2 separate regions of the Homo sapiens genome follow, and region 2 is linked to region 1. Evidence: promoter capture Hi-C in human tissues and cell types (Jung and others, 2019). All regions are on one chromosome and are shown on one strand. Each heading gives the region's core, a stretch centred on a gene start or on the middle of the fragment in contact. The rest is flanking DNA. Distances are from core to core; before and after follow the strand shown.

Region 1 (5,723 bases), core at 1,107-3,606:
AAAATAAGATAAAAATATGACAAGTCAAATGATTTTAAAACAACACAAATATTTCAAGATAGAAGATATGAGGTAGAAAGTAATCACTTATCAAAGGAAATGCAGAGAAAATACTGTTATTAAGACAAAGGAGAGAGAGAGAGAGATTAACACAAACTGGGCAGTCAGTGAAAGCTACATAGAAGATACAGTGGCTGAATCAGGTAAGGAGGAATGCAGACTCAGCAAGAGGACTGGGCAGGCCTTATGGAGAAAGGCAAAAAGGAAAAGAAACAGGTAACTAGATGTGTTGAAGAGACAGCTAGTCTAGCCAGAATGGAGGATTCAGGTAGAGAAGTTTTGAGAGATAAAGCTGGGAAAATACAGAATAGTCAAATTGTGGAGAGACCATAACTGCCCAACCAAAGGGCTTAGGTTTTCTACTAGGGGCTCACCATTTCTCAGCATATGTTCTGTGGACTACTGGCGTCAGAATCAACTGTGGTGCTTGATAAAAATGCAGTTTCCTGGTCCCAACCTGGACCTACTAAATATGGATCTATGTAGTGGGGCCTGGAAATTTTTATCTTTTTTTTTTTTCCCTTAACTCAGGCTGGACTGCAGTGGCACGGTCACAGCTCACTGTAGCCTTGACCTCCCCAGGCTCAGGTGATCCTCCCACCTCAGCCTCCTGAGTAGCTGGGACTACAGATAAGCGCCACCATGCCCGGCTAGTTTTTTGTTTTTGTTTTTTTGTATTTTTTGTAGAGACAGGATTTTGCCATGCTGCCCAGGCTGGTCTCGAATTTCTGTGGCTCAAGTAATCCTCCCGCCTCAGCCTCCCAAAGTGCTGAGATTACAGGTGTGAGCCACCATGTCCTGCTTTTATAATTTTTAAACAATCTTCTCATCTGATGTTTATGTACACAAACATTTCTGAATCATTGTTGTATGTATTAGGGAACTGTTCAACCGGTTTTATTTTCCCTTAAAGAAAGGGTGGTATGACCAAAGACAGTGATGTATACAAGATATAAGAAGGATTCAGGGCTACCGAAAAGGCACTGTAGAGTCTAGGTATGACCTGATAAGGATCTAAAATAGTACTGTTGACAGTAAAAACAGGGAAAAAGAAACTGATCCAACAATATGAAGGAAGGACCAACATGATTCAAAGTCTGATCAGGACTGAGAGGACTTAAATTAAAATGATGTGTTGTATACTAAGCCTCTGATATTAGAATGTTGCTATCATGAACAGAAACAAGAAGACTGTCACAGGCAGCCTCCTTTAAAGAAAAAATAAAGTTCTTTTTATTTCATTAATTTAATTAATTTTTAAGAGATGGAGTCTTGCTATGTTACCCAGGCTGGATTTGAACTCCTGGGCTCCACCAGTGATCCTCCTACCTCAACCTACCTAGTAGCTGGGATTACAGATATGTGCTGCCATATCCAGTTCTTTTTTTTTTTTTTTTTTTTTTTTTTTTTTTTTTTGAGACAGAGTCTTACTCTGTCTTCCTGGCTGGAGTGCAGTGGCATGATCTTAGCTCATGCAGCCAAGATCTCATGATCTCTGCAGCCTCCACGTCCCGGGTTCAAGCTATTCTCCTGTCTCAGCCTCCCAAGTAGGTGGGACTACAGGTGCATGCTACCCTGCCTGGTTAATTTTTATATTTTTAGTAGAGACAGGTTTTCTCTATGTTGGCCAGGCTGGTCTTGAACTCCTGGCCTCAAGTGATCTGCCTGCGTCAACCCTCCCAACGTGCTGGGATTACAGGTGTGAGCCACCGTGTTCAGCCCATACCTAGTTCTTAAAGTCTGTTTCAGTCATGTTAAACTTGAGGTGATGACAGGATGTTTGACAGTTGTGTGTGTGTGTGTGTGTGTGTGTGTGTGTGTGTATACACACACTACACCACACGAAAGCATTTTCTGTCCCATATAATCTAAGTTTACTAGATATTTTCTCAAATAATTGCTGCAGTTCCACAATTGTTACATTATCTGATCAGTATCCCATGGACTCCAAACTCACATTTTCAAATCAGTCTGTAGATTTCAAATAAGTCTTTTAGAGAAGATTTGAAATGGAAGATACCATTTCAAAACCTCTTTTGAATGACACTAAAGCATGTAGCAGGCCTATAGAATGAGCATACTGTCAAAAGGCATTAAGTGGAAAACCCTCCCTGCTCTGGAGGCGGGGATTGGTTCTACAAAGCCTCCTGTCATGCCAGTGGCCAACTAGAGAAGTTGGAGCTTTTTCGTTGTTTTTTTTTTTTTCCCTCCTGTGACATGTGCTTTAGTTGCAGTGGAAAGGAAATGTGTCATCTGTGGTTTGGTTTTAAAAGTGGAAAACTAGCTGCACATATCCTTTTTTACTGCAGATTTACTTTAAGGCTCATATTCTCCAAGTCTATTCTGCTTTAAAAAGAAGACAAGAAAAGAAGTGGTTTATCAAAATCACGTTATAATCAGATTTTGACCAAGCATTTTGTAAGGTAGGTCATATATATACGGCTTTTCTTATGCCTTTTCACTTCTAACGTCTGACAGATTAGTGTTCGAGGAAATGCTATCAAAGTGTGTAAGAATCTCACTAACAAACTAGAATTGTGACTGAAAATGTATACTTTTTTTTTCTGTCCTGTTACATAAATTTTAAGTTAGAAATGAAAAAATTTGCCATCGCCATGGAGTTTTAAATTAGGATTACGAAGGATCTAAGTTTGGTTTCCTCAAGTAAACTGGAAATGTTTTGTTATTTTTCAAAAGTTAAAAAATAAATTTCTCATTACTAATGCTTGGACATTACAAATTCTACTGAAAATAAATTCTACTGAAAATGATCAGATATAAGAAAACTTCTGATAACACAACCTGGCCTCCAAGGCATAAACTGGAGTAAAAACAGTCCTCAATTCTCAGGCATTTGTAAGGGCAAGAGAAAGTCTCATTTTGTCATACAGTTTGTTTATTTGGGCACTGCAGTACATCTGGCTGAAGACAATCAACAGCAGGCCTATTATCTGTTCCGTGGTAAGCACTGTTAAAATGTGTACCAATACTATGATGTATACTACACTGTTAATGAACTAATGTGAAAAGAATAATCTACTTTAAATCATTCTAGCATCTAATACAGAAGTCCAGTCTAGTATAAAAAGATGGAAATTACTTGCTAATCCAATTTCAAGTATTTCTTTTTGTGGAAGAATCATGAAATATCCAAAGATTTATGTCACTAAACTTAAAAATTAAAGCTGAACACTATTATACAAAAGCCAGTGACTTGGGCCTTTAATTGTCTACTAAAGGTCATAATCTAAAAAGTAATCTTAATCCTGGAATATTTAATAGTTTTTCCTCCCTACTATTAATATGAAATATAGTCTCCAGTTAGCATTGTTTATTACATGCTACTTTTGTTTGCATAACTCAACGTATCACATTTCTTATTTTCAATTTCTGTATTTTAATAGTATACAAATGTCAGCCAATGACATATAACAACCATTTCTTATAAAACCTTGATGTTCAAAAGCCTGACTAGCAGTGGCATCCATGTTGCTTAGGAGTTGGTTTGGAAACAAAGACTTTCAGGCCCTACCTATACTAGCTAGGTAAGAATCTGCCTTTTTTTTTTTTTTTTAAATAAAAGGACTCCTAAGTACATTTGAGAAGAATTTCTATAGCATACGTAGGGTTCTTAACCAGGCAATTTCATTTAGTAAATCTCAGGAGAACAATATAGTTTTGCTTTTAGTTCATTCAAATAAATGCTAACAATAAAATACTCCTTTCAAAAGTAGCTCAAGACAAACTGGTATATTATTATAAGATACCTTAATAATGATTATAAATCTTTCCTGCTGGGTTAGCAGTACATGGAACTGTTAAATTCTAAGATATGCCATTTCTATTTAAATCAATCATTTGGTAGATTTAAAAAATGTATAATATAACTTGTCTCCTTTTTGTACTAGTTTCCAGCAAGCTCAGGGCCAAAGCGGAAATTCAACATTTTCAATTATCTGTTGAGATGCTTATAACCTGCCACTTCATCCCAAATCATCAAGATCCTGATGCTCTATTTCTATTTTATTACACATTTTTTTTTACAATTATGTCAAAATCAGAAAAAATGCTAGGTATAAATGATGCTTTAAAAGAAAACCCAGCAACTTTTGTTGAACTTTTAAGTCTACTCAGAGGAAATTTGCTGTTTTTTTTTTTTTTTCTTCAGATTTTTAGGTTGAGAAAACTGGTATGCCTTTGCCTTCAGAAAGACACAGTCAGTCCAGGGAAATATAAATGAAAAGAGACAACCACCACAGTAAAATTGCGTTCACAAATACACTTACAAATGTATTTCTAAGTACCAGCTTTATTCTAAGCTTCAAGATGAACACCCAAGAAAAAAAAAGAACACCTTGAATTTCTATTTGAAGTTCAGTTTCTTTTGGTTGCTACCAAACTTCCCCTCTTTCCACCAAAAAAATTTGCATTTATTTCATACATGAAGCAAGAAGCTCAAGGCCACATTTCTTCTGTAAAGATTGGTGACAGGTTAGAGGGTGGGTAGTTTCTGTAAGAATGATCCTTAATTTTTTTTTTTTTTTAAAGAAGGAATCAGAAAAGTAAAAGCAGAACTAACTGACTCAAAGCAGAAGTCTAGCACGCTTCAAAGGAAGAAAACTATATAAAGCCATGATAGTCCACTTAAAATGATTAATATTTATTTGTAATGCTAACTTCTAGCATCTAAAAGTGTTAATAGAAATTAAAATGCTTCTTCATACATAGCTGAATAGAAAAGAAATTTAGTTGAGAAGGAATTCAGGGTAGCGAATATTAGGCATAAGCTTGTAGTTTACTTGTAACATCTCAACACTATCTTTTAACTACAATTACCAAAACTAGGATCCATTATTCTTTCACAAACTAACAAATTATATTGCTATCCCAACAGATTGCCAAGCATGCCCACGGACATGGAACACACAGGACATTACCTACATCTTGCCTTTCTGATGACAACAGTTTTTTCTTTGTCTCCTGGAACAAAAGCAAACTATACCCGTCTGTGGGCTAACAGTACTTCTTCCTGGGATTCAGTTATTCAAAACAAGACAGGCAGAAACCAAAATGAAAACATTAACACAAACCCTATAACTCCTGAAGTAGATTATAAAGGTAATTCTACAAACATGCCTGAAACATCTCACATCGTAGCTTTAACTTCTAAATCTGAACAGGAGCTTTATATACCTTCTGTCGTCAGCAACAGTCCTTCAACAGTACAGAGCATTGAAAACACAAGCAAAAGTCATGGTGAAATTTTCAAAAAGGATGTCTGTGCGGAAAACAACAACAACATGGCTATGCTAATTTGCTTAATTATAATTGCAGTGCTTTTTCTTATCTGTACCTTTCTATTTCTATCAACTGTGGTTTTGGCAAACAAAGTCTCTTCTCTCAGACGATCAAAACAAGTAGGCAAGCGTCAGCCTAGAAGCAATGGCGATTTTCTGGCAAGCGGTCTATGGCCCGCTGAATCAGACACTTGGAAAAGAACAAAACAGCTCACAGGACCCAACCTAGTGATGCAATCTACTGGAGTGCTCACAGCTACAAGGGAAAGAAAAGATGAAGAAGGAACTGAAAAACTTACTAACAAACAGATAGGTTAGTGAAGAAAAATGCAAAGTAGCAATGAGAAGGCTTATGGAGTAAAAATG
Region 2 (5,723 bases), core at 1,687-4,186, 330 kb after region 1:
TATCTCCATTTTACAGATGAGGAAACCCAGGCTCTAGGAAGCTTAAGTGACTTGCCCAAGATCACACAGCTAGTTAGTGGAGCTGCTGGGAGTCAAACCCAAGCAGTCTGGCTCTGGGATCCATGCTCTTAAGGACTATCCCAGACTGAGATGGCAGAAATACCTCAGCAGGTTTAGGAAGAGGCAGTTGGCTATAGTTGGTGGCCACAGCACAGATGCAGAAATACCTCAGCAGGTTTGGGAACAGGCAGTTGGCTGTAGTTGGTGGCCACAGCAGAGATGCTCAAAGGTTGGCGGGACTCTGAGTGCTCTTGGGTCTAGAGTCTCAACCTGCTTTGCCTTTGCAATCAGCTCCCCCCGTGGAGGGACCTGGAACAAATCCATGTGCAGTAAGCCAAGGAGTGGCCCTAGCAGTAGGGAGATGGATGTAGGATATTCTCGAAGCCCGCTCTGCGGCAAGCCAAACCCATGTTTAAAGTGGACCACATACTTACACTGAGCAAACCGAGAAGCTCTCCTGAGTGCAGGGTGGCTCTGGTCAGGCAATGGGCATGAGGAGGAAGACGGGGCTTCCAGGAGTTCTCCTAAGTAACAAAAAAATTAACAGAGGAAAGTCCCATCAGAAAAAGGCAAACTGAAGGTCTCCAAACATCATGGTCAAGGCACATGGCTGGCTTGTCTTCTTATCATCTACACATTTTTCAGTGTCAGGACTGGATCAGGCAGAGGCAGTGTGCCTGCAGCCCAGGTATGTGCACCTCCATGTTCTCACTGTGGACTTTTCACTCTTTCTTCACTAAGCTCTCAGCTCCTTGCTAGCAAAGATCTTGTTCATCTATATGTTCTAAGCACCAAGCCCCATGCCAGTCCCATAGATAGAAGGTGTTTTATGCACACTCATGAAATAAAATCAACTAATACAGTTCCAGGGGATTGCAGCACCCTAACACCTAGAATATCCAGGACCCCCAAGTCAATGTTTTAAACTGTTGTTACATAAACTGGGTAACATGAGTTGGGGTGAGATTCATCACCATTGCTGACACCTCCTAATTCCCTCTCGATGTGCTAAAGTTTAATTATTAACTTAAAGCAGTCATGTGTGCTAGAGTGCAATGACCACGTCAGGCAGATGATAAGTAAGGGAAGTCCTAGAGTGCAGACTTTGAAGGCAAAATCTTGTCCTACTTGTATCTTGAAGTGACAGCAGCTGCAGTGAATCTAAGACTCCACCTGAGAAGAGATGAAAGACCTTGTCTAGGGTGTGCCTGTGGTAACTTAGGTCATGAGAGCAAGAGAGCTGCCTGTAAAGAGGCCAGTCTCAAAATTCAACTCGGAACTGAAGCAATCCCTGTGTCCAGAGACAGAAAAATGGATAAAGAAATGTGATATATACATACAATGGAATATTATTTAGCCTTAAAAAGTAACGAATACTGCCTGGGCGCAGTGGTTCACACCTGTAATCCCAGCACTTTGGGAGGCCAAGACAGGCAGATCACAAGGTCAGGAGTTCAAGACCAGCCTGGCCAATATGGTGAAACCCCATCTCTACTAAAAATACAAAAATTAGCTGCGTGTGGTGACACATGGCTGTAATCCCAGCTACTTGGGAAGCTGAGGCAGGAGAATCACTTGAACCTGGGAGGCGGAGTTTGCAGTCAGCCGAGATCGCACCACTGACTCCAGCCTGGGAAACAGAGTGAGACTCCATCTCAAAAAAAAAAAAAAAAAAAAGTAATGAATTCTGCCTGGGCGTGGTGGCTCACGCCTGTAATCCCAATACTTTGGGAGGCTGAGGCGGGCGGATCACCTGAGGTCAGGAGTTCGAGACCTGCCTGGCCAACATGGCGAAACCCCATCTCTACTAAAAAATACACACACACACACACACACACAAAACTAGTCAGGGGTGGTAGCACATGCCTGTAATCCCAGCTACTACTAGGGAGGCAGAGGTGGGAGAATTGCTTGAACCCGGGAGGCAGAGGTTGCGGTGAGCCAAGATCGCACCACTGCACTCCAGCCTGGGTGACAGAGCAAGACTCCGTCTCAAAAAAAAAAAAAGTAACAAATTCTGATATATGCTACAACATAGGTGAGCTTGGAGGACATTATGCTAAGTGAAATAAACCTCTCACACACTAATACTGTATGATTCCACTCACATGAGGTATCTAGAATAGTCAAATTCATAGAACAGAAAGTGGAATAGTGGTTGCCAGGTAGGAGGGGGTTGAAGGAATGTGGAATTGTTGCTTAATGGGTATAGAGTTTCAATTCTGCAACATGAAACCAGGCATGGTGGCCCATGCTTATAGTCCCAGCTAGTTAGGAGGCTGAGGCAGCAGGCTCACTTGAGGCCAGGAGGAGTTCCAGACCAGCCTGGGCAACATAATGAGACCCTGTCTCTACAAAACAATTCTTTTTTTTTTTTTGAGACTGAGTCTCGCTCTGTCGCCCAGGCTGGAGTGCGATGGCGCAATCTCAGCTCACTGCAAGCTCCACCTCCCGGGTTCACGCCATTCTCCTGCCTCAGCCTCCTGAGTAGCTGGGACTACAGGCGCCCACCACCACACCCAGCTAATTTTTTTGTATTTTTAGTAGAGACGGGGTTTCACCGTGTTAGCCAGGATGATCTCGATCTCCTGACCTAGTGATCCACCCGCCTCGGCCTCCCAAAGTGCTATGATTACAGGCGTAAGCCACTGTCCCGGCCAAAACAATTCTTTAAATAGCTGAGCATGGTGGTGTGGGCCTATAGTCCTGGCTACTGGGGAGGCTGAAGCAGGAGGATTGAGGTTACAGTGAGCCATAGTTGTGCCACAGTACTCTAGCCTGGGCAACAAAGTAAGACCTGATCCTAAAAAATTAAAATTAAAGTTACAGTCCAGGCGTGGTGGCTCACACCTGTAATCCCAGCACTTTGGGAGGCCGAGACGGGTGGATCACCTGAGGCCAGGAGTTTGAGACCAGCCTGGCCAACATGGTGAAACCCTCGTCTCTACTAAAAATATAAAAAAAATTAGCCAGGTGTGGTGGTGGATGCTTGTAATGCCAGCTACTTGGGAGGCTGAGGCAGGAGAATCGCTTGAACCCAGGAGCCAGAGGTCGCAGTGAGCCGAGATCATGCCATTGCACTCCAGCCTGGGCAACAAGAGTGAAACTCTGTCTCAAAAAAAAAAATAAAATAAAATAAAGTTACAAAAAAGAAAATGATCTGGAGATTGGTTATATGATAATGTAAACATACTTAACAGTACTGAGCTCTGAGCTGCTACTTTTTTTGTTGTTGTTGCCGAGGCTGGAGTGCAGTGGCCTGATTTCGGCTCACTGCAACTTCTGCTTCCCAGGCTCAAGTGATCCTCCCACCTCAGCCTCCCAAGTAGCTGGGACTGGGACTACAGGTGTGTGCCACCATAGCAGGCTAGTTTTTGTATTTTTGGTAGAGAAGTGGGTCTCACTATGTTACCCAGGCTGCTCTTGAACTCCTGGACTCAACTGATCTGCCCACCTCAACCTCCCAAAGTGCTGGGATTACAGGCATGAGCCACTGCACCTGCCTGAGCTGCCTACTTAAAAATAGTTAAGATAGTAAATTTTATGTTGTATGTATTTTCACTACAATTTAGAAAAACACAAAATTCAGATGAATATCACTGTTCTCCTATTTTGCTGATACGATTATTACTTATTGTTAATAGGTTTTTAAAAAATGTTTGGCTGGGCACCGTGGCTCACGCCTGTAATCCAACAACTTTGGGAGGTTGAGGCAGGAGGATCGCTTGAGCCCAAGAGTGGGAGACCAGCCTGGGCAACATGGCAAAACCTCATCTCTACAAAAAGTACAAAAAATTAGCTGAGTGTGGTGGCACATGCCTGTAGTCCCAGCTACTTGGGAGTCTTAGGAAGGAAGATCACCTGAGCCTGAGAGATCGAGGCTGCAGTGATTGTGCCACTGCACTCCAGCCTGGGCAACAGAGAACCTGTGTCAAAATAAAAAAATTAATTAATTAATTAATTCAGCAGAATGCAGATTATAAACAAAAGAAAAAGAAAGGAAAAAAATTTTTTAAAAAGCATTTGCAAAACCTACTGAAGTTATTTACTTTTTTTTTTTAAATTAACACTCCCTAATACTTTTTTTATCTCTATTGATGAGAGAAATAATCTACACTTAACCATGGAAATTTTTTCCAAAGAATCATGGTTCTCCAGTTAAGAGCAACATTTTAAGCAGAGCAATATCATTAAACATGAAAATGCTATGAGATATGTCTCTAAAGTGGCACTACACAAATCTTACTTAAAATTCACTAGGGGCTCGGTATGGTGGCTCATGCCTGTAATCCCAGCACTTTGGGAGCCAAAGCACAAGGATTGCTGGAAGCTAGGAGATCAACACCAGCCTGGGCAATAAAGTGACATCCCTGTCTCTATTTAAAAAATAAATAAGGCCAAGTGCTGTGGCTCATGCCTGTAATCCCAGCACTTTGGGATGCCAAGGCAGGCAAAGGCAGGCAGATCACCTGAGGTCAGGAGTTCAAGACCAGCCCGGCCAACATGGCGAAACCCCATCTCTACTAAAAATACAAAAAGTATCCAGATGTGGTGTCGGGAGCCTATAATCCCAGCTACTCAGGAGGCTGAGGCAGGAGAATTGCTTGAACCCGGGAGGCGGAGGTTGTGGTGAGCCGAGATCGCGCCACTGCACTCCAGCCTGGGCAACAGAGTGAGACTCTGTCTCAAAATTAATAATAATAATAATAATAATAATAATAATAAACAAATAAAACAAAATGCACTAGGATACATGCTGAGATATACTTGAAGTGAGTCAAAGATTTAAATGTAAAACATGAAACCAAAGATTTAAATGTAAACTGTGTAAGTACAAACACACACATATACCTGAGAAAATTCCTTTCTAAACTTCAGGGGGTTGAGTTTTCTAACTAAAACTTAAAATCTACAATGCATAAAAGAAAAAATGAACAAAATTTACTACATGAAAATAGAAGCAAGACCTCTTCTCCACAAAAAAAATAAACAAAAAATTAACTGAGTGTGGTAGCGCCACCTTGCAGTCCCACCTACTCAAGCAGCTAAGGTGAACTAATTGCTGGAGCCCAGGAGTTCCAGGCCAGCCTAGGAAACATAGCAAAACTCTGTCTCTACCCAAAAATACAAGAATTAGCCAGGTGCGGTGACACGCACCTGCAGTCCCAGCTACTCAGGAGGCTAAGGAGGGAGGATCACTTGAGCCTGGGAGGTCAAGGCTGGGGTGAGCCATGATCGCACCACTGCACTCCACCCTGGGAAACAAAGTAAGACCTTGTCTCAAAAAATAAAAAAGAAACATTTAGAGACCAGGAATTGCCACAGCACTCTAGTCAACCAGTCTAGGCAACAGAACAAGACTCTGTCTATTGTCTCTAAAAAAAAAAAAAAAAATTGAGGCCAGACATGGTGGTTCACACCTGTAATCCCAGCAATTTGGCAGGCAGAGACAGAAGGATTGCTTGAGCCTAAGAGTTTGAGACCAGCCTGGGCAAAACAGTGAGATTTCATCTCTATAAAAAATTATGTAAAGGCCGAGCGCAGTGGCTTACTCCTGTGTAATCCCAGCAGATTGGGAAGCCAAGGCAGGTGGATCACCTGAGGTCAAGAGTTTGAGACCAGCCTGACCAACATGGGGAAACCCTGTCTCTGCTAAAAATACA

The links. The method cuts DNA at HindIII sites, captures the fragments that hold promoters and counts their contacts. A contact is called where the count stands out against the background at its distance.
Region 2: a fragment that was not itself captured here is called in contact with the fragment with the promoter of EVI2A in region 1 in 1 of the 25 tissues and cell types used here (lymphoblastoid cells).

The regions. Positions count from the first base shown.
Region 1 is chr17:31,318,255-31,323,977 of GRCh38, reverse strand. EVI2A (ecotropic viral integration site 2A) reads left to right here and starts at 2,356. Exons shown (of 2, transcript NM_014210.4): 1 at 2,356-2,483; 2 at 4,955-5,723. The coding sequence starts at 4,965. The coding sequence ends at 5,675. All of the region lies in intron 36 of NF1 (neurofibromin 1), which reads right to left. RefSeq lists enhancers at 5,208-5,267, 5,478-5,527. The HindIII fragment of the contact is 10,482 bases long and covers 1-4,613 here.
Region 2 is chr17:30,992,103-30,997,825 of GRCh38, reverse strand. RNF135 (ring finger protein 135) reads right to left here. Exons shown (of 5, transcript NM_032322.4): 4 at 495-584. Among named protein-coding and RNA genes, the nearest start is that of RNF135, 24 kb to the right of the region's middle. The HindIII fragment of the contact is 7,055 bases long and covers 1-5,723 here.